Linked DNA regions of Homo sapiens: region 1 is linked to region 2. The links are contacts of gene promoters, found by promoter capture Hi-C in blood cells and fetal thymus (Javierre and others, 2016). All regions are on one chromosome and are shown on one strand. The core of a region is centred on a gene start or on the middle of the fragment in contact, and the rest is flanking DNA. Distances in the headings are between cores, read along the strand shown.

Region 1 (4,038 bases), core at 814-3,313, 510 kb before region 2:
GAGGTAACAGCAAATTACAGCTTACCTCTGAAATCTTTACTCAGCTGTTCACTTTGCTCAGTTCTTTGAAGGATGTTTGGTAGATGTAAAATAATTCATGAAATTGTCTCATAAACTGCTTGGCAGGTTTAGAGGAATACCAGGGGTCCAGAGACATCCTTTTGTCCATCTGTGTTCCTTGTGGAGGCACTGAATACGGGGAATATTTTACAGCCTAAAGACCTGTCATGCTGCTCTGCACAGCAGCCACTGGGTGGCTCTCTTGACCAGCAGTTCTTCAAGCTAGTGCCACAAAAGGGTTAGTTACTGTGAAAAGGAGAAGGTAAAAATGTGCTCAGTATTACTTGGGTTTTACATATTTGAGCATAATATAGCTACCTGTAAAATTACTATCTACCATGCAAGTATGATACATTGTACCTGGTAGGCACTCATTATTTATTGAACAACTCTATTATGGGTGTGGAGGTGATAAGAGTGCCTCTCTTGATGATGCTGTTTGCTGAGATGTCCAGTCATTCCTGTGACTGGGTGGGAAATGTATATGGGCAGAATAGGCAGCAGAGATATCTGACCTACAACTGTGATTTAGTGTCTTGCTTTGGCTGAGTAAGCAAAGTCTCTGTAGAACATAAGAATAAAAGGCACTTATTTTCTGGTCAAAAACAAAAGAAATTTGTCAGTCATGAATTCTTATCAAAGCATTTCGGGGCCGGGCGCGGTGGCTTACGCCTGTAATCCCAACATTTTGGGAGGATCTGGTGGATCACCTGAGATCAGGAGTTCGAGACCAACCTGACCAAAATGGAGAAACCCCGTCTCTACTGAAAATACAAAAATTAGCTGGGCATGGTGGCGCATGCCTGTAATCCCACCTAGTCGGGAGGCCGAGGCAGGAGAATCACTTGAACCTGGGAGGCGGAGGTTCTGTGAGCCGAGATCGCACCATTGCACTACAGCCTGGGCAACAAGAGTGAAACTCCGTCTCAAAAAAAAAAAAAAAGCTTATCAAAGCATTTAAACTGAACTAAAATCAAAGACCAGTGCTCTATTTTACAGGTTTACTTAGAAAGGCTTTTAACTTATGCTGAAATCGACATTTGTCCCACCAACTGGAAAAGGATTGTTCTGGGAGCCATTCTTCTTGCCTCCAAGGTTTGGGACGATCAGGCTGTATGGAATGTGGACTACTGCCAGATCCTCAAGGACATTACAGTTGAGGACATGTGAGTTTGTAAGGTTTTGGTGAACTTTCTAACCATTTTCCAGTATCTTATTCCTATAAAGTTAACAATTTAAGGAATATTTTTAAAGGTTACATTATGCAGATAATGGAAATAGGCATAAGACTATATCTGTCTATCTTTAGTATAACAGTTCACAATAGAGCAAGACTGTCTCAAAAAAAAAAAAACTAACTTCATATTTTCCATCATTACTTGGTAGGTTTTGATGTGTAATAATCTGCTTGATAAATTGAAAAATATTTTTTGGGTGGTTTTTGGCAAAAATCTTACAAGTATACTACCAGAACAACATAGCACAGTAAATATCTTTATTTTATTTTATTTTTTGTTTTGAGACGGAGTCTTGCTCGGTTGCCTAGGCTGGAGTGCAGTGATGCAGTCTCGGCTCACTGCAAGCTCCACCTCCCAGGTTCAAGCGATTCTCCTGCCTCAGCTTCCTGAGTAGCTGGGATTACAGTGGGATTACAGGCATGCGCCACCATGCCTGGCTAATTTTTGTATTTTTAGTAGAGACGAGGTTTCACTGTGTTGGTCAGGCTGGTCTTGAACTCCTGACCTTGTGATTCGCCCGCCTCCGTCTCCCAAAGAGCTGGGATTACAGGCATGAACCACTACGCCTGGCCTCTTTATGGCTTTTAAAAAGTTATCTGCCAGTTCAAGCTCCTTTCTCTTTTTCATTCATTCATTCATTCATTCATTTATATCTTTTCATGTGACCAGTAGGGTATAAACAGCCCTTAAAGGGCATATGTCTGGCCTTTGAAATAATTGTTTGGCCACTATTAGGTCTTAGGGCCTCTGGACTATTGAGAAGTTACGTAGCTTCAACCTGAGTCACACATTGTATATTTGCTTTTGCTAGTCTTTCCACATTTTATCTGAAGGTCTGTTTTTACAGAAGCCTTGAGATATGAAGATCCCTGTGCCCCTGACCCCTCCCCATTAGGAGTGTTTTTTGTATTTAGAAATTGGTCTCCTGAGTTAGGAAGCTCCAGCGTTCCCCTCAGGCGGTCTGAGAAGCACTGCTGGGGCATCATCCAACGCTCACCACACTCGAGAGGCTCCCTGGGCACTCGGACAACCACAGCACCACTTTGGGGGCCTTGAGTTACCTATGAGAGTGCAAGGATCCTTGCTGAGTCATGGAGTTCCTCACAGATGGCACCAATATGACCCTGAAACAGCAGCTTCATCAGGGTTCCTTCCAGGCTGGCCTCGTGTCGGCCGTGAAGGGAAGGGCCTTGGAGCTTGGTAGGCAGGCTGAGCCAGGGAGGCATTTCCAGCAAAGGCTCTCAGGGTGCCCACCAGACAGTGAGAATGGCTTTGTGGGTGGCATTTAGAAAAATATGAAGGAGCACCTCTTGATGATGTTGAGCAGCAGAGGAAGATCAAGGTCATGACAGGCAGTGGCAAGAGTTTGTTTTTATTGCCTTTGCCCATTACTCCATATGACTGTCATTCAGAATTACCATACCATATATTCACAACTGAAGTGAGGATACTTGTGACTAAAAAGGAACCAGTAATTGTGGTAGCTGTTGAAGTGGCTTCTGGTGAAGTTGACCACTTTACTGTTTACCGAACAGCCCTAGTGATATTGCTGGTAGCCGTTTTAGCAAAGGGTGTGACAGCAAATGAATTTGAAACAAATGGAAGTACTTTTGGAAATTGCAGAAACTAAAGTGACTTTGATCACTGCTGTCATCCGTCTGCAAACTGGTTTCTTGAAGGAAGCAAAATTTATTATTATGAACACTTAGCCCTACCATGATGGCAGCTAAAATGTTCTCAAAACCTGCAACTGAACTGACTGGTGCTCTAGTTCAAGATACAGTATCAGAGAACCTGCAGGGAAATGTGCAGGTTTCTACAGATGTAAGCTTCAGGAGCAGTGGTGGCAGGGGCCAGCTCCAAGAAGACCAGTTCTAAATAGTGCTGTTTGTGTATGCCCAGGGAAGCACCAGGAGCTATGCTACAAACAGGCTGCTTTTGTTTATGATCTTTGGAAAGCATTTCAACAAACTGTTTAATATACATTTGTCTCATCCCCCTGCTGTTGACTATTTGTAGTGGTCTCATTTTGAGTCTAAATTGAAACAATTTTAAATTGGTGTCTATCAGGTTTTTCTTAAAAATTTTCAACAGCTACATGTCCTGTTAGAATATATTTCCCTTTAAAAGAATAAGTTAAACTGAGCAGCTGCTATTCAGACGGTTTGCTGTGCCTGTAAAGGGTATGCTATTCAGCCACCTAGCCATTTAAAAAAAAACAAAAAACCTAGAAGATGCATATTCTGTAAGCATAATGCTTTTCTTCAGTGATTAAACCTCTATTAATATGTGTGTTAATCCTATGAAGTACTATATTTCTACACAGTTAAAATGTATTAGTGGAAAAAATATAAAAGGGATTGTGAAGTGCATTTATTGCTGTAGTAAATTAAGTCCTGGTTAGCTGATTATCAAAACATTATCTGATTTACATTTCTATAGGCTTATGGACATATGAACAGGAAATTAATTTTGGAAGTAGGTTCAGTTGGGTTTTTAAGCTCAGCAAATGAGAAAACCACATCTCTGCTCATATTAACTGCTCTCCATACAGGAGATCATCAAGCATTTGTTGACTTACCCAGTGGATAAAATATTAAAACTTTGAAACCAAGAAACCAAATATGTTGTTTAGGTATTTATCATTTTTATACAGTTAACTCCTTATAGGGATTACTGTGAAAGTGGTTAAGATTTTCTCTAGTTTTATGTTTATTTGCTTAAGCATTTGGCAAGGGCA
Region 2 (3,070 bases), core at 571-3,070:
TTTATCTCATAATGCATACTTCAGACGCTTCAGGTTTTCCTCACATTACTTAGCCATGAAATTTTTACCATCTTTTAACTAAAACAGTGAAGCTTTATTGTTACTACCATGTGGAACATAATTGTATTTCTTCTGGATCTGATTTCCATGGGATGGGCTTGAGGCCCCACTGGACTGACTTCTCCACCTTTGTTGCCCCTCAGATTTTGTCTCCAACCCAATCCCAACTTCAGAAGGAAGGGCTGTTCCAAGACCAGCAGGCACCAGCTCATATGAAGTAGCTGAATCCTATCTCCTAACATAATTGTGCAATTCCAGAAAATAAACCTGGAATAACAATACAGAGTAGTTTAATGAAAAAAAAGAGCCATTTAATATTATTTTCATCAACCTCAAGTTTTTGGCCAGATTGTTTTTTGCCGAGTTCATGAACTACAATAATTTCTGGGCAAAAAGGATCTCTTGCAGATAAGACACTGTATTAAAAGAAACAAGGAAGCTGTTGGAATTCGTTGTTGGAAATATTCCTCACTCATTCCCTTGCAGTGCCTCGGCCTGCCCCCAAGACCAGTTAAACACTGTACTGCCACATCAAAGAAAGTACAGAAGAAGGGGGAAAATTTGCTAATTCTCACCTTGACAGTGAATAGATTTCTTATCACCCCAGTTCCTCCCAGTCTTGCAGACTCAACTGAATGTAGTTTATCGCCTAAAACAAAACAAGGAATAAAAGTGTTAACATACAGAACACTCACAGGAGAATTTAGCTGTTTTTAGTACCTGCCAGACAGCCCAGTTTATCCGGTTTAAAGTACAGTGCTGAGTGTACTCGGTGGGACAAAGGCCAATTTTAGGCCCGCAGGCACTTTCCAAATAAAGGTCATGGGAGCACAATTTATCTCTGCGTGTGCGAGGGCGTGCCCCCGCTTCGCCGCCCGTTAGCAGGTCTTGGGGTTTGCATGTCCTTGCTCTTGGCCTGCACCCGTCCTTATGGCCGTTGTGCAAGAGGGCTGCAATCAAGGCTGGATCGGTACCTCCTTCCAGGTCTCCACGCCCGCCCCTCCCCTCCCCTCCCCTCGCTGGTGCTGGGACCTTTTAAACTCCAGGCACCCGGAACTGGCGGGGGTGTTTCCCCCAGCCCCCTCTCGCCCCGTGTGGCCTAGCGACCCCTCTGAAGGCCGCTGGAGCTCCGCCCCTCCACGCCCCCTGGCGGACGCGAGGGATCGGCTTCAAGGCTATTCCTCGCCGCCTGAGTTGCCTGCAGACGCCCGTCTGCGGCTTACAGCCTTCTTTGCATCCAGCCCCCAGCTGCTGCACGTTTTCTTCCTCCTACACTCCAGGCTTAGTCTTCTACATGCATTCTTGCAACTTCCACCCCTCGATTTTCCAACCCAAGTGCAGACCTGATTTTCCCCTTGTCGTTGCATCCAACTTCCTCACCGCCCAGTTTCTCCCTCCCAGGCCCAAAAGCAGACCTTCTGCATATCCAAGCATCCAGCATCCCCTCCTTCCCTTTTCTTTTCCCATTCTCAATACCTGGATTTGTTCCCTTCTTTGCACGCAGGCCTTGACTCCCTCCACACCCAAGATCTGCGCTTTTTTCCTTTACCCCATTCCTGCCTTCTGCGGAATTAGAGCCACCCCTCCACAGCCAGGGACCGGGGCCGCCCCTTGGAGCCTGAGGTTACCTGCCGGGATGATATGCTGGCGAAGAGTTGGGGCGCCACAGCCGCTCACAAGCTCAGACTCACAACCACAGCCTGGCAATCCCAAACCGGACTCCCAGTGCCTCCGCTTCTGAAGTAGACTCTGCAGAAACCCGGGACCACAGGGTAGGTCCGAGCTTTTCCTCTTCCCGGCTTTGTCCCCTCCCAGGCCCCGCCTCCTCAGCCCACCTCCCCCAGCCCCGCCCCCGACACGCCTCCAATCGCCACACGCCAATTCCCGTGGGATGGGCGGAGTCAGCGAGAGGGGCGTGGCCACAGTCAAAGATGGAGAATCCATGGTGCCACTTTCCCGGTGATCCCGGTGGGGGAAGGGGTTGCCGCCCGGCAGAGATTCAGTCCCGAATCCCGACAGCGAAGAGACTTGTATGCCACCTGCAGGCCGGGGAGCGGGGCGCGCTGGGGCTGCACCACCCCGAACTTTGTAACAATCTAGAGCACCACAGAGTGTTTCCAGGTCGGCACAAAAGCGAACGGGACAGGGCGCCCTGGGCGGCGGCAGCTTGGCCGGCCCGCTGCCTAGCGCGCCCCCGAGGGGCGGTAATGGAACGTACCTTTGGCTGAAGAAAGAGTGCTCCCGGCCAGCGCGGGGTCGCCTAGGGGGTTCCGCGCTGCCTAATGCAAAGGATGGAAAAGTTACAGAAGCAGGTCCTGACACCACCTATGTCTAGGTCTTTAGAAACTCCATTGATTGTTTGCATTAGAAGATAATGAATGGGATTCTTATTATTTTCTTTTTTAAGACAGGGCCTTGCTCTGTTGCCCTGGCTGGAGTGCAGTGGAGCGATCACCGCTCACTGCAGCCTTGACTTCCTGGGCTCAAGAGATCCTCCCACCTCAGCCTTCCGAGTAGCTGGGATTACAGGTGCACACAATCACACTCAACTAATTTTTCTTTCTTTCTTTTCTTTTCTTTTTCCTTTGGTAGAGATGGGTTTCAGCAGCCCAGGCTGGTCTCGAACTCCTGGACTCAAGTGATTGGCCCTCCTCGGCCTCCCAAAGTCCTGGGATTACAAGCGTGAGCCACCATGCTCAGTTGGCGGGGGATTATCTGTGATCCAATGAAGTTGGACTAGAGATGTGAAGCCTTAGAAAACGGTGGATTGAAAAAAGAATTTTAGTCTCCTCCAGAGATTATATTTTGTGTGTTCATTGCTCTCAAAAACATGAAAATAAAGAGTATTTTATATTGTGATTTGTAGGACAATAGCATGCTTGTATATTGCTGCCCAGAATTTAATGCTCCAATATTTATTTATTTATTTATTTATTTATGAGACAGAGTCTTGCCCTGACAGGCTGGTGCAGTCTCGGCTCACTGCAACTTCCGCCTCCTGGGTTCAAGT

Evidence for each region. The method cuts DNA at HindIII sites, captures the fragments that hold promoters and counts their contacts. A CHiCAGO score of 5 or more calls a contact.
Region 1: a fragment that was not itself captured here is called in contact with the fragment with the promoter of IDH1 in region 2 in 6 of 17 cell types (megakaryocytes, fetal thymus, monocytes and 3 more); the score reaches 14.7 in megakaryocytes.

The regions. Positions count from the first base shown.
Region 1 is chr2:207,745,988-207,750,025 of GRCh38, forward strand. CCNYL1 (cyclin Y like 1) reads left to right here. Exons shown (of 10, transcript NM_001330218.2): 8 at 1,060-1,226. Among named protein-coding and RNA genes, the nearest start is that of MIR4775, 6.8 kb to the right of the region's middle. The HindIII fragment of the contact is 2,123 bases long and covers 1,003-3,125 here.
Region 2 is chr2:208,253,251-208,256,320 of GRCh38, forward strand. It overlaps IDH1 (isocitrate dehydrogenase (NADP(+)) 1), which reads right to left and starts at 1,821. Exons shown (of 10, transcript NM_005896.4): 1 at 1,689-1,821; 2 at 636-709. IDH1-AS1 (IDH1 antisense RNA 1) reads left to right here and starts at 1,983. Exons shown (of 2, transcript NR_046452.1): 1 at 1,983-2,181; 2 at 2,653-2,944. RefSeq lists a silencer at 966-1,075 and an enhancer at 1,529-2,055. The HindIII fragment of the contact is 4,060 bases long and covers 91-3,070 here.